Linked DNA regions of Homo sapiens: region 2 is linked to region 1. The links are contacts of gene promoters, found by promoter capture Hi-C in human tissues and cell types (Jung and others, 2019). All regions are on one chromosome and are shown on one strand. Each heading gives the region's core, a stretch centred on a gene start or on the middle of the fragment in contact. The rest is flanking DNA. Distances are from core to core; before and after follow the strand shown.

Region 1 (7,435 bases), core at 1,444-3,943:
TGGAAGGTGGAGGTTGCAGCTAGCCAAGAGCACGTCACTGCACTCCAACCTGGGCAACAAAGTGAAACCGTGTCTCAAAAAAAATAATAATAAATAGAATAAATCAGTGAAAGAGCAGCACTCTAGCCTAAAGAGGAAACCAGACCTCTCGAGATGATGTCACAGCTAACAGTCTCAACAAGGCCAGGTGAGAAGTATACTTATCAGGGTATCTCCTCCACTCCCTGTCCATCTTCCCCCTCTTCCCTAAAGCAAGGTGAAGCAGCCCCCATGCCAGGCAATACCGTTTGCCTCCAAAGCTGGGCCTCTCATCATCCGAGTCTCGCTCTGCCCACACCCCGTAGGTGGCTTCTTCCTTGGTCTGCCAGTGGCGCTGTCGGTTGGGGTTGAACTCATTCTGGAGATCCCAGTCAGTGATCTCAAAGTTCTCCCGCTCGTCATCATCATCATCAATGCGGCCTTCCCCATCCCGGTATAAGTGGGACAATGACATGGCCAGTCACTAAAGGAAGAGACAAAAAGAGCACAGGCCGTAAGTCCTGGGGGCAGCAGTCGAAGGATTCCTTGTGAGTCTCTATTCCTTGCTGCTTTCAGAACTTTCTCCAAATTCAAAGTCCATTAAAGTCAGCATTACTATTCAATAAAAAAGATATTAAAAACCTACTTTTAGATAACAATCAGTACTAAAACAGGTGAACAAAATACTACTCCTAACAGTCTATGATTCTTTAAAAGTACATATCTCCTTGTCCTAGTCAATATCATAAATATCACACATATTCACACATACACAAACCACACAAAAATAACTAAGTAGGTTATTTTGTACATTATTACCTTAGAAAATGAGTAGGTATCTTCTTAGATCCCAGATTCTTTTTTCTATTACTGAGGAAAGAATTATATCTGGATCCTTGGTGGTCCTAGGAGAGTGATTTTTTTTAGAATATGCTTTTTGAAATACATTACTTGATGAAACAAAATTTTCAGTTTTCCTCACAAAACATGAATTTCTTCTGATGAACTGAAAGACTGTAGTAATTATGAACACTATTTTAATAGTCAGATGTCCAGAGATTGATATAGAGAATCTACCTCACAGTAGCTGGGTGACCAGATTCAGTTGTCTTTCTTAAATTGGGATTAACTACCATACCAACCTTAGAGAAGGCTTACAAAGCAAATTCAATGAGTTCAAAATAAGTGCTCAAGAAACGATAGCTTCTACTTTAGTCCCATGATTAGGTTAATCATTGTATTAGTCAGGGTTCTCTAGAGCGACATAACTAATGGAATAGACATACATATATAAAGGGGAGCTTATTAACTATTAACTCACACGATCAAAAGGTCCCACAATAGGCTGTCTGCAGGCTGAGGAGCAAGGAGAGCCAGTCAAGTTCCAAAGCTGAAGAACTTGAAGTCCAATGTTCGAGGGCAGGAAGCATCCAGCACAGGAGAAAGATATAGGCTGGGAGGCTAGGCCAGTCTCTCTTTTCACATTTTTCTGCCTGCTTATATTCTTGCCGTGCTGGCAGCTGATTAGATTATGCCCACACAGATTGAATTGAGGGTGGGTCTGCCTTTCCCCACCCACAGACTCAAATGTTAATCTCCTTTGGCAACACCCACATAGTCACACCCAGGATCAATACTTCGTATCCTTCAATCCAATCAAGTTGACACTCAGTATTTACCATCACAATCATCATTATTATTATGGGACTAGGGAGTAAACTTAGCAAAGTGACTGTAAAATCAGGCAGGCTAAAATCGAAGCCTGAGTTCAAATTCAACTCTATCAGATACCCAGTGTATGAGAATTAAATATGCACGTGAAGCGCCAAGCATGGTGCACTACACAATAATACACTCCATAGGTGACAGCAATTGTGATTCTTGTCTTGCTGAAAGCGGCCTTAAGGCACACGGAGTTCACTACTTCCACAGGCAGTGTCAAACTCTGGTCACCTCTGGCAAAACGTTATCTCTGCCTTCTTCTACTCACTGGTGCACCGGTTGGGTGCAACGGGTCCCAACCTCTTCCAGGAGTGTTTAGGACAGAAGGATTTTCAGAAAAGACGGGGAATCTCAAATACATAAAGTTAAATAATACCACTGCCTGCGTGGGCATAGTAAATGGTAATAAGCCCCGAGTAGTCACAAGTTATGAAGCCTTTATCAGTAGATGCTAGGTACATGCTGGTCGCTTGAGACCGATTATCAACTGTCTGCATCAAGACACTTCTGCAAGGTAGGTACCGTTAGTTTTCATGCTTCAGATAAGAAAAAGGAGGTTCAGAGAAGTTAGTAACTTACCCTAGGTTCCACTGCTCATAGGGCTCAAACTCAGGAGTGCTAGAAGTCAGGCCTCGGGCTTGTCTCTCTCTTGCTGTCTAGGTTTGGTGAAGGAAGCTCAGGTTCTTAAATGAATCCAAGCCCTAAATCCCAGTTGACCCCAAGCAGCACCGCCCCTCTCCGTGCCTCGGCAGAGCTGTCTACGAAATGGATTCCCCTCCCCACACCCCAACGGCTTGGACCGAAGCTCGCCTTCCCTGAGCCTTCGTCCCTACTCTCACTGGCGCTGAGTCCCCTTGTGGCCAGCCGTGCTCACCTGTCCGAGGGTCCAGCGTACCAAATTCAGCTTCACCATCCGCGCGAGAAGACGCCGCTCCTACACCAGAACCCGGAAGCACCGTGGCCGGCGCGCCGGAAATGACGTTAGTCGACAGCGGATGTCCTGCTGGCTGCCAGGGCAGCGTGGGACGCTACGGCGGATATGGCTGCAGAGCGGCCGGCTGGGATCTTAGATAGGAGGGGTGGATTTGCAAGGCCTAGAATAGCTGGGGAGTGGTTTCCCCGCGGAATCGGCCTCCCTGCCGCTCCTGCTTTGTACTGTGACGCTCAGCCTGTGATGACTGGTGTGGAATCCGCTGAGCCACCTTGGCCTAAGGAGACTTTACCACTCTGAGATTGTAAATCTGTAAAATAGAGATGTAGGATTAGCCCATACGGTAGTTGTGGTAAATACTGTGAGACAATAAGGGGCCTGGGACACAGCATTCAAATGGGAATAATGAAGGTCAAGACTGTGATTCCTGTATCTTTGACGCTCTCGGTATAAGCACCGTCGTGGGCACAGGGCAGTGGCCTTTATGCAGGAGTTTAAGAGGGAATGAAGGAATGAATGGGCAAACTCTGGAGTTCCCAAGTATTCTCTCCAGGAGCTGTTTCCATTCTTTTCGTTTCCAGCAGGTTGGTAAATTCATTAATTTATTCATTGATCTAATTAAAATATACTAAGTGCCCCTCACCTGTGCTAGGCCAATGTGATACAATGAGCAGAACAGTCATGGGCCCTCCCTGGGAAGCCCTCACTAGCCCAAGGACTCCTTGTAGACATTTAAGTGTCCACAGGCTCTGGAGTTCCAACCTTGAGTGCAATTTAGCAGCTGTGGACCTTGGGCAAGTCATTACATCTAAGCCTGTTTTCTCTTCTGCAAAATGGTTAAGGATTCAATAAGATAAAACTGTAGGCAATGAAAACCGTACCTGGTAACAGTAGGTGCTGAAGAAGTGTTAGCTATTAATTTTTGCTTAATTTTTCTCTCTCTGCTCTATGTGATGAAAAGATTCAAGAGGCAATTGTTGGAATGTAAAAAGAGCACGGGACTTGGAGTCAAATACTTAAGTCTACCATCAAGTAGTTGTTAAGAATTAAACAACAATTTTTGTGTACCCAGTTAAATGTGGGCTGCTTAGGAATGATGACTGTGTCTTAATGATCTCTGTATTCTTAGTGACATGTAGAATCATTGTGCCTGACACATAGTATGTACTCAGGAAAGAAATGGAAAATGTGGTTTTAGCATTGAAGGCCGGGAGAGAGGGTCTAACAGACTACAAGCCCTGCCAGGAGCAGAGTAAGGGAAACAGAGGAGAAAAGTGTTTTTAGTCTGTGCCTGAATGTATTTACATCTGTTTGTAGCCCAAAAGCCAAAAGCATACATACGCTTGGCTTTTCTGTAGCTATGTTTATGGCTTTACAGCAGATTTTATGGAGCTGCAATTACTTTGATCATGAGGGACTGATGCTAGTGGATTTACTTCACCAAATGGAACTCACTTTGTGGCTTCTGAAGAAGGGACCTTTGTGGACTGTCATGGAGTAGTTAAGAGTGCAGGCTCTGATTTAGTGATCAGAGTCTGCATTGTCAGGAATGGGACAAAGTGAAGTTATGTGGCACTTGATAGGATGCCCTGAGAAGATTGCAACATCACCCCTGTGATATTCCTGCTGAAGATCCATAACCTGGATGTAATCATGAGGATATATCAGACAAACCCACGTAAAGAGACATGCTGTATACAAAACTGTAATCTTAGAAAGTGCCAAGGTCATGAAAATCAAAGATAGACCCTGGAACTGTTCCAAACTGGAGGGGACCAAAGAGGCATGACAACTAAACACAACACATGATTCTGAACTGGATCTTTTTGCTTGAAAGGAAGTTACAGGGACAGTTGGAAAAGTTTAAATGGGGCCTACAATGCCGTGGTAATGATGTGTCCGTGTTAATTTCCTGATTTTCATGGTTGCCTGTTAAGTTACATCAGAGGATGTTCTTGTTTGCTGGAAAGTAAATCAATGTATTTGGCAGGGGATAAGGCATCAAATGGTCACCTTAATTTCAAATTATTACAGGGAAAATGTTTCTCTCTGTACTTAATAACTTTTTTGCAATTTCTTAAAATGAAAGCTCTGGAGTAAAAACTTCAAGGATCCAAATCTCGACTTTGCTACTTCTTAGGTATGGGCCCGAGGGCAGGTTGCTTCACCTCTCTACACCTCAATTTTTCCATCTGTAGATTGGGGATAGTGACAGTACTGATCTAAGAGAGTTGTTTAGAGAAAAACAAAAACAGAAAGTGATAATTAGTGCATGTAAAGCTCCTGGCATGGTAAGAGCTTTCTAAAGGATTGTGGCTATATTCTTATTTATTTATTTATTTATTTATTGAGACAGAGTCTCACTCTGTCGCCCAGGCTAGAGTGCAGCAGCACAATCTTCGCTCATTTGCAACCTCTACCTCCCAGATTCAAGTGATTCTCATGCCTCAGCCTCCCGAGTAGCTGTCATTACAGGCGCAGCTGTAGTGATTCTCATGCCTCAGCCTCTCGAGTAGCTGGCGTTACGCCGCCACGCCCAGCTAATTTTTGTTTTTTTATTTGTTTTAATTTTTTTTTCCCCCAGACAGAGTCTCACTGTGTCACCCAGGCTGGAGTGCAGTGGCACGATCTCAGCTCACTGCAACATATGCTTCCTGGGTTCAAGCAATTCTCCTGTCTCAGCCTCCTGAGTAGCTGGGATTACAGGTGTGCGCCACCACGCCTGGCTACTTTTTGTATTTTTATTAGAGATGGGGTTTCAACATGTTGGCCAAGCTGGTTTCGAACTCCTGACCTCGTGATCCACCTGCCTTGGCCTCCCAAAGTGCTGGGATTACAGGCGTGAGCCACTGCGCCAGCCTTCATTTTTAAAAACCCAATGTCATACCCCTTTCAGTCTCAAAAATCCATGGTTTTTCAGGATTTCTGGGATCAAATGCCCAGCCTTTGAAAAACAAGGAAAAGTTTTACAAGGCAACCAGAGCTTTAGGTTCAAGGTCTCATATCTATCGTGATCTCCTGTCATTTCCTAGAGGGGAAAAAAAAAAACAAAAACATTGCTTTGAGATTTGGGAACATCCACACTCATTTCTACATTCCCAATGAGGTGCTCAGACATGTGGCCTTCGCAGAAGGGGTTGCCAAAGCAACAAGGCTCCTTGGGCAGAAGGAGTCTGGCAGGGCCCTCCAGCACTCATGGGTCTATACCTCTCTTTTCGCAGCTGAGGCGGTGGGGGAGCCCCTGGCAGAGTGGAGGTGCCAGCACCACACAGTGAGTTTAAGGACAGGGCCAGGCCTGAAACCCAGGAGCTCAAACTCCCAGGCAGGTGCTTTCTTTGCAAAACCATGCATGGGGTCCCACATCATGATTCCTGTGTGTTCAGGGCCACAGAGCCAAACTCTGCAGACATCATCTCTTTGATTCTTCAGCCTTCTAAGGTAGTTTGTTATAACCCCAGAGTCCACATTCCTAACCTCTTATTTCTACAGCCTATGCCATACAGCACACTTTCCATATTGCCTACAAAAGATTTCGGGAAAAAAATATCGTCACTTAGTTACAACTTTAAATAGGTTGGTACCATAGAAACAATCCATAAGTGGCATTTCAAAGCTGATATATTTAAAGACTAGCACATGTACTTTTTCTAGGACAGTGACATTATACAGTTGCACATGGCTTATTCTTATTTTGCATTTTGTCCCAAAAATATATATGGTGTCCTTAACTTGGCAGAATTGAGAACCCAGATCAGCTGAGATTAGCAATTTGATTTCCCTCTAAATGTTTCTTACAGATGGTTTCTACCCTACTTATCTTTCAAGAATTCGTGAAGACTCTATCCTTATATGGAAAGCTGGAACATGAGGTTCCTTAGGCTCGGGGTGTTTATCTGGAAATTAAATATCCGCAAAACACAGTAAGGGGAGAAACCACAGCCTTCATCATTCATTTATTCATTTGTCATTAACAAATAATTAATGAGTACCTACATGTTATCTATTGCAGTATAACAATTACCTCCAAACGTAGCAGCTTGCAACACCAGTAAACATTATCTCACATAATTTCTTTTGGTAGGAATTTGAGAGTGGCTTAGCTGGGTGGTTCTGACTCAGGGTCTTTCATGGGGTTGCAGCCATCTGAAGGCTTGACCAGGGCTGGATGACCAACTTCCAAGGTGCTTCTCTCACATAGCTGGCAAACTGGTGCTGGTTGTTGGCAGGTTTCAGTTTCTTGCCATGTGAGCCTCTACACATGGTTACCAAGTGTCGTTATGACATAGTGGCTAGCTTCCCTCAAAATGAGCAAAGCAAGAGAGAGCAAGGCAGAAGCCACAAGGTCTTTTATGGCCTAGTCTTGGAGTCACACTGTCATTTCTGCAATATCTTTTTTTTTTTTTTTTTTTGAGACTGAGTTTTGCTCTGTCACCTAGGCTGTAGTACAGTGGCGTGATCTCGGCTCACTGCAACTTCTGCCTCCCAGGTTCAGGCAATTCTCCTGTCTCAGCCTCCTGAGTAGGTGGGACTACAGGCGCATGCCACCACACCCGGCTAATTTTTGTATTTTTATTAGAGACGGGGTTTCACCATATTGGTCAGGCTGGTCTTGAACTCCTGACCTCAGGCAATCCACCTGCCTCAGCCTCCCAAAGTGCTGGGATTACAGGCATGGGGCACCACGCCTGGCCCATTTTTTTATTTTCTTTATTTTTTATTTTTATTTATTTATTTATTTATTGAGATGGAGTCTCGCTCTGTCAC
Region 2 (7,435 bases), core at 2,319-4,818, 110 kb before region 1:
CTGCATCATTCTAAAACTATGTCACTAATACTATTGTTGGTGGCGCTACCACAGTGCCCAGCACAGAGTAGGCACTCAAATATTTGGTGAAGAAATGACTATCAGCCAATAGAGAAGCCCAAAGCCGGGCCGGTGTCACTGGCAAGCTGGGTCCCTTTAAACCACCAGATGGCATCCTCAGCATGGGATTCTCAAGGAAGGCCTTGAGCATCCTACAGAAACTGAATCACACTTCTGTTTCCTCACAATGGTTATTTTCTTTGGACAAAGATAACTGATGAAATGGATTCTTTCTGGTAAAACAAAATATGATTTGGAGAATTAGCAGGCTGCCCTTCATTCTTGGCAGTAAAAGAAACCAGCATCATTGTTACTCATTCTTGCCCAGGCTGCGTGTTACAGATAAAAAATGGGGTGGCTTTGGACCCAGGGCTCATACAATGCTGCCCCCAACCAGAGAACCACACAAAAGACTTTCAAAGATTCTAACTTGTACTGATGTTCTCTAGAAGGGACTGAGTGGGAAGTATATTACCAGGCACATCACACAGAAAAACTTCCATAAAATCCTCTGTACCCATTTCTGTCCCCAAGAGTCTCACATTCCTGGGAACCTACTTGAATCTCTCTCCTTCCCCAAACTCAGGAATTCTCCCACCCCCTACCCATCTGACTTTCTTCCACGTAGGGTTACCAAATGTACAAAATAAAAATGCAAGACACCCAATTAAATTTGAAAATTAAATAAATCTGTAGTATTAATAATACAGTTCTGACTGTGGGACACCTGACCATGGTCTGGCCAATCAGAGGTTCCATGATTAGTGGAGAGATGGTCACATGAGCCAAGCTGGGCCAATGGGAAAGTGCAATATTTGGGACATATTTATACTTAAAAAAAAAGTGTTGTTTATCTGAAATTCAAATTTAACTGGGATCCTGCATTTTCTCTAGCAACCATACCACCACACCCTTCTTATATAAAAATAATGCATAAGATGAACAAGTTCTGCAATGCTATGTTGTACACTTAAAAATCTGTTCGGGGCCAGGTGCAGTGGTTCACGCCAGTAATCCTAGCACTTTGGGAGGCCAAGGTCGGAGGATTGCTTGAGGTCAGGAGTTTGAGACCTGCCTGGGCAACATGGCAAGACCCTGTCTTCACAAAAAAATTAAAAACTTAGCTTAGTGTGATGGTGCATGCTTGTAGTCCTAGCTACTGGAAAGGCTGAGGCAGCAGGATCCCTTGAGCCCAGGAGTCTGAAGTTACAGTAAGCTATTATCACACCACTGCATTCCAGCCTGGGCGACAAAGCGAGACTCTGTCTAATAAAAAAAAAAAAAAAAATTAATCTGTTAAAAGTTGAGATCTCATGTTAAGTGTTCTTGCCACAACCAATTTTTTAAAAAGAAAGAAAAATAAAATATGCTATTCATAGTGCATAATCAACATAATCCCACTAGCAAGTACAGTATCATACTAAATGAACCATTTGATTTGCAAATTTTCCAACGTCGTGAATCTCACAACTTTTGTGCCAGGTGAAACTGCTTGAGAGGACTTCCTTTACTAATAAAATCTCAGGCTGAATAAATTCATACATAGACACATACAAGCAAGGTCTGCCTTTTCAGTTCCCCATCCACCAACCTGCAGGACCCTCCTTGGTGTCCTTCCTTCTAAGAAGGCAGGGGTAGGGGCAAGTAGATATCCGTAGAGTTTAATATTGGGGGGCCGTTAACAAATACAGTAATTTTTTTTTCCTTTTCACATTTTGTTTCATGGCATGTGAAATATATACATGCTTTAAAATGTCACATGTGGCCGGGCATGGTGGCTCACGCATATAATCCCAACACTTTAAGAGGCTGAGGTGGGCAGATTGCTTGAGGGGGGTCAGGAGTTCGAGACTAGCCTGGCCAACATGGTGAAACCCCATCTCTACTAAAAATACAAAAATTAGCCAGGCATGGTGGTCCATGGCTTTAGTCCCAGCTACTCTGCTCAGGAGGCTGAGGCAGGAGAATCACTTGAACCCGGGAGGAGGAGGTTGCAGTGAGCCGAGATTGCACCACCTGGGCGACAGAAAGAGACTATGTCTCAATTAAAAAAAAAAAAAACAGACAGAAAGAAAAAGGTCACATGCGATTATAGGATTCAAGCAACACACAGGCCTAGTAAGCAAGCTAATAACCTTTCTCAACCCCTGTCGTCCCACATCTTTGAAACATCAATGTTTCCAGTACTCTTTGGTATAGTTCCTTCCACATCATTCTCTTTGCTCATAAGGATACATATAAGAGACTTTGTTTTCCTCAAAAGAAGTTATTATGTGCTTTGCTTCCCCCATGCCCCCGCCCTTGATATATCTATATCTTTATGTGTATCTCTCTCAACATAGATTCAGGGAGAAAGAACATATCTCGAATGGACATCTCTCCAGGTCATTACACAGAGCTCTAAAGCTGAGTTATGGGCCAGAGTGTGCTGCATCCTAATTTATTCCACGGATCCCACAGAAATGCTCAACACCTTGGGTCAGGATTTTTATACAAGGTTGTTTATCACAGCACAGTTTGTTCCATCGAAAGCTAAAAAGACTATGAAGGACAATCAGCAGGAGGGTGTGCTTTTTTGTCTCGAGAGGCTTTACTAGTGGCTCTAGAAGTCATCTTTTCTTATCAGTCTGGACCTGACCTTCAATACTCCAGGATCCCATCTGGAGGAAGATGGCTTCCACCTGGCCCTCCTCTCCAGTGACTATCTGAAGCCTCGCTCTGCTCTGCTTCCCCAGTTTCCCTCCCCATAGTCCTTCCTTCCTTTCTTTCAACTATTTTCTACTGGAGAATTTTCTGAGAGGTTATATAATCAAAAGGATTTCATCAAATGATGAAAGAGCAACCATACACCATGGCCAAACAATTGCATGTCTCTCTAGAAAGACCCTGGTACATTTTGGCCTAGAACTCAACATTTTCCAAAAGAAGGGTCCCTTTTTCACTTCAGGGACTCCATATGTCGGTTATAATGGAAATCCAGGCCCTCTTCTCATGGTAACAGTTCCTCAATTTTTCCTTTGAGGAAAGAGAGAGGGGCTCTGGGGCTACAGGCTTAAGTGGAACTGATCCTCCTTCCTGACACCATGAGGACCTAACCACAGCCTGGGCAATCAAAGATTCCACGGTAGCTCAGAGAAAGTCACGTGGTCCAAACTGGCCAATGGGAAACCGACTGGCTCTTTTGGCAGGAGCTCCCAGGCCTCTAGGAGGTGTGCCTGGATCCATTGGCAGCCATTTTATTGCCGCGCAGGGCAATCATGACTGCAAATGAAAACAAGAGAAAGTAAAACAGAGCCTAGAAAGAGAAAAAGACAGATCCCTGGTGATGTTGTTGGAGTTTCTAGATTCAGCTGGACTGAAAGTGAGACCCACCCACCTCTCACCTTTGTAATCATATGAACCAAACATTCTCTTTGGGATGAAGCCAGTTTGAGTTGGGTTTCTGTCCCTTGAAATTAAAAGAGGTCTTGGTAATAGAACACTATTTGTATTTCAAGTAATTAAGAAAATACATCCTATCGGCCAGGCGTTGTGGCCCCTACCTGTAATCCCAGCACTTTGGAAAGCTAAGGCAGGAGGATCCCTTGAGTTTGGGAGTTTGAGACCAGCCTGGGCAACATAGGGAGACCCCATCTGTATACATAATTTAAAAATTAGCCAAGTGTGGTGGTGTGCACCTGTGGTCTCAGCTGCTTGGGAGGCTGAGGCAGGAGGATCTCCCTAGCCCAGGAGGTCAAGCCTGCAGTGGGCCATGATCATGCCACTGCACTCCAGCCTGGGCCACAGAGCAAGATCTTGTCTCAAAAAAAAAAAAAAAAAGAAAGAAAGAAAATACATCCTGTGTCCCCACCCCACCCCAACTTCACACATACAGAGAGCTATTAAGAATTCAGTCATACTTGCAAAACACCTATACTTCATCTGCAAAGTTATCATATTGATGTAATGTACAAACAGTTTTCCTACTTCTAAAAATAAGTCTGAGATCCGTAAGGATTCAAGACCCACAGGTAAGAATCAAATACTCTATGTTGGTGGCTCATAAGGCATCTTGAACTGCCAGAGAGATATGCCTGGAAGCGGACCTCAGCTAAAGAGGGATGGGGTTGAGGGGTAAATACCCAGCTCCCCCTTTCCTTGGGAGGGACACCTTTGAGGCATGTTCTGCGCCGTCCCCAGAGTTCCCAGGGAGATCGGGGCCTCGGTTGTCCACAGCGCTCAGTAACATGCCTTTTATTGGCTTTCTTCCTTTCCAAGCCTCACTTCTCTGTTCCTTTTCTGGTGCATTCTGGTATCACCTCCAAATGAACCACTTCTAGAGGAATCCATGACTCAGGGTCGGCTTCCAGAGAACCAAACCAGGAAAGCTCTATCCTAACTCAGGAGACTCCCAACAAACCAGAGTCCACCCACATCCTCAGACTAAAAATCCCTGTTCTAAAGGACTCCACACACCAAGCAAGCGGTGCTCACTGCAAAGCCACCTGATATGGTGAGTTAGTGCCTTGTTAAAAAAAGAAACAAATTCCCAAGACCCTGTAGCTCCTTATACCTGATATTCTAATTGTCATCAGTTTGTGAATTTTTGAACTCTTCTAATCCTCGTGTTCCTAGGACACAGGCATGTTGTGCTTTTAGGGGCATGATTTACTGTTCCTTGCCAATTCTGCCCATCCCTCCACTGTGTTAAAAACCCTATGTTTATGTGGAACAGCCTTCTTACTGTTTTAATTCAGCTCCCCGTGATCTCCCTGCCCACAAGAAGAATTCCTGAAGCAGATGCTCCTTCCCTACCCGCTGAGCCTCACTTTCTGTCTCCTGTCCCATTTAGAAGAGCAATAGTGAGCTGGGAGCAGTGGCTCACGCCTGTAATCCCAGCACTTTGGGAGGCCGAGGCAGGTGGATCACCTGAGGTCAGGAGTTTGAGACCAGCCTGGCCAACATGGCAAAAACCCATCTCCACCAAAAATACAAAAAGTTAGCCGAGCGTGGTGGTGGGCGCCTGTAATCCCAGCTATGCGGGAGGCTGAGGCAGGAGAATTACTTTAGCCCAGGAGGCAGAGGTTGCAGTGAGCCAAAATCATACCATTGCACTCCAGCGTGAATGACAAAGTGAGACTCTGTGTCAAAAAAACAAAAAAAAAGATAAAGGAGGAGGAGGAGGAGAGGAGAAAGAAGAGGAGGAAGAAAGAAAGCAGAAGAAGGAGGAGGAGGAGGAAGGAGGAAGGAGGAAGGGTAATAGTGATTGGCCTAATGGCACAGTGAGAGATCTAGGCAGGCAGACCTGGCTCTATCACTTAATACCCCTGGGACTTTGGCCAGAGGTGTCAGTTTCCCAATCTGTAAAATGGATCTATAATAATAATAACTACTCTATATAGTTACTAGTGAGAACAAAGTGAGATAATACAGGTAAAATGTTTAGCACGGTGCCTGGCACATGGAAAATGCTTGAGAAATGGAGGCCTTTGTTGCCACTCAAGTCTAGCAGTCTTAAATATTTGTCGAATGAGTGAATGAAGTCAAGAGAAGGCCAAGCTGTGGGCAGTGCCTTTGGCTAAATCCCAGAGGACCTGAGGTCCTGCCTGTCTTAGCCACTCTCTCCTGATTCTCTGTCTCTTTGTCTTTCTGTCTCTGTCTCTTCTAGTTCCATCCCTGCCTCTCTCTGTGTGTTTTTCTTCTCCTATTCTCTTTTTTTATGGTCTATTTCTCTCTCTCTCTCTGTGTGTGTGTGTGTGTGTGTGTGTGTGTGTGTGTGTGTGTTTCTATGTGGCTCTGTTTTTTTCTCTCTGTCTCTTTTTCTCACTTTCTGTTTCTCTCCTGGTCTCTGTCTGTATCCCACCCCCGCCACATCACCCCCACACCAGCCTCCTCTTGCAGGGACCAAGTTGTCAGGCTGCTCACGTCGTGGGCTGCCTTGAAACCTGCCACGCACATTCTCATAGTTAGATTTCTCCTGCGTCCACCTCTACTTAAAAAAAAAAATATTTTGACATTTGAGATTCAAATAAAAAGACCATAGAATGGCCTCAGGGAATAGCAGTGCCTGGAAAAAACAAACCTCATTCCTAAACTTTGTGATTATTTTTTATTTTCTTTCTGTCTCTGCTGCCTGAAGCAGAATAAACTTTGTGTTTTTGAAAGACACATAGCACGAGGGTATGGGAACCCCTGCAAGCCCTCAGTGGGAGTTGCCCCACAACCAATCCTCCAAGTGAAGTGCTCCCCACTACCCCAGTGCTCACCATGAACACCAAAGTGAGTTGAGCTGGTAACAATTTTGTTTTCTGGAATCTGTCAACATGCGCAGCAGTTGCTTCCTAATCCTGCTGAGCCATTAGCCACAAGTTCCTCTTTTGTTACAATTTAGCTGCGAGCTTCAGAGAGTGACAAGAGTCAGGAGAAGGGAGAGCAGGGTAAGGCTGTGAAAAGATCCTGAAGAGGTGTTAAGAGCTCAGCAGTTGAGCCAGACATCCCTGGGTTCAAGCCTGGCCAGAACACTTAAGGGCTGGCTAACCTTGGGCAGACTGACATCTAACAAGTGTTCGGTAATTGCAATGTGTTTGGCATTGTGATAAGCTCCGTAAAGATGATCTCATTTCATCTTCCCTGCAATCCTGTAAATGACAAACTGGCTGCAGCTCAGAGAGGCTGGCTAACTCATCCAATGTTACGCAGCTTTGAATGTCTACTCTTTGAACAGTCCAATTCCTCGGCCCAATACCTGGAGACTTTGAGTGGGGGGAGTGCTGGTTCCTGGTACTCCCCACCTCACCTCTGAGTGCCCTAACCACCATGGTCACTCCCAGTGGAATTTTCACCCATCATACAGCTGCCTCTGGAAGCTGTGTAACTGCCTTTAGTGCTGGCCCCTCACTGGAGTGGAGTCCATGCAGTCCTACAAATTCAAAGAACCAGAACACCCTGGTTGTCAAGGCAGATGGGTAAGTGAGTGCAGGGCATTTTCAGCAAGCCTTTGGGGGTGGGGTCTGGGGGTCTGTTTCTTGAGCATCCAGAGCTCCAGCCAGTAGCTTCCTAGTGCATGACTGTGGGCCACTGAAGAAGGGGCAGGAAGGTGTGGAGGGTTAACCAGGAAGCTGGGCATGGGCCTGTAGCCTGTAGTCCCAGCTACTTGGGAAGCTGAAGTGGGAGAATCACTTGAGGCTAGGAATGTGAGGGTGAGTGTTCCATGATTAAGTCTGTGAATAGCCACTGCACTCTAGCCTAGGCAACACAGAGACCTCATCTCTTAAAAAAAAAAAAGGGGGGGTGGGGGTAAACACTACTCAACTCTTCAGGTAGACTCTCCTCCAGGGAGGGTGAGATGACCTACAGTCCAGCAATCTAAGACAGTTTCTTTCCTTTCACATATGAA

Evidence for each region. Contacts are between HindIII fragments. The study calls those that stand out against the background at their distance.
Region 2: a fragment that was not itself captured here is called in contact with the fragment with the promoter of TFIP11 in region 1 in 2 of the 25 tissues and cell types used here (mesendoderm cells and thymus).

The regions. Positions count from the first base shown.
Region 1 is chr22:26,509,780-26,517,214 of GRCh38, forward strand. It overlaps TFIP11 (tuftelin interacting protein 11), which reads right to left and starts at 2,694. Exons shown (of 15, transcript NM_012143.4): 1 at 2,615-2,694; 2 at 2,320-2,396; 3 at 838-923; 4 at 285-502. The coding sequence starts at 493. TFIP11-DT (TFIP11 divergent transcript) reads left to right here and starts at 2,753. Exons shown (of 2, transcript NR_144529.1): 1 at 2,753-3,255; 2 at 3,633-4,789. RefSeq lists enhancers at 2,577-2,756, 2,979-3,516. The HindIII fragment of the contact is 22,947 bases long and covers 1-7,435 here.
Region 2 is chr22:26,398,678-26,406,112 of GRCh38, forward strand. No RefSeq gene overlaps it. Among named protein-coding and RNA genes, the nearest start is that of ASPHD2, 27 kb to the right of the region's middle. RefSeq lists an enhancer at 6,236-6,752. The HindIII fragment of the contact is 8,682 bases long and covers 1-7,435 here.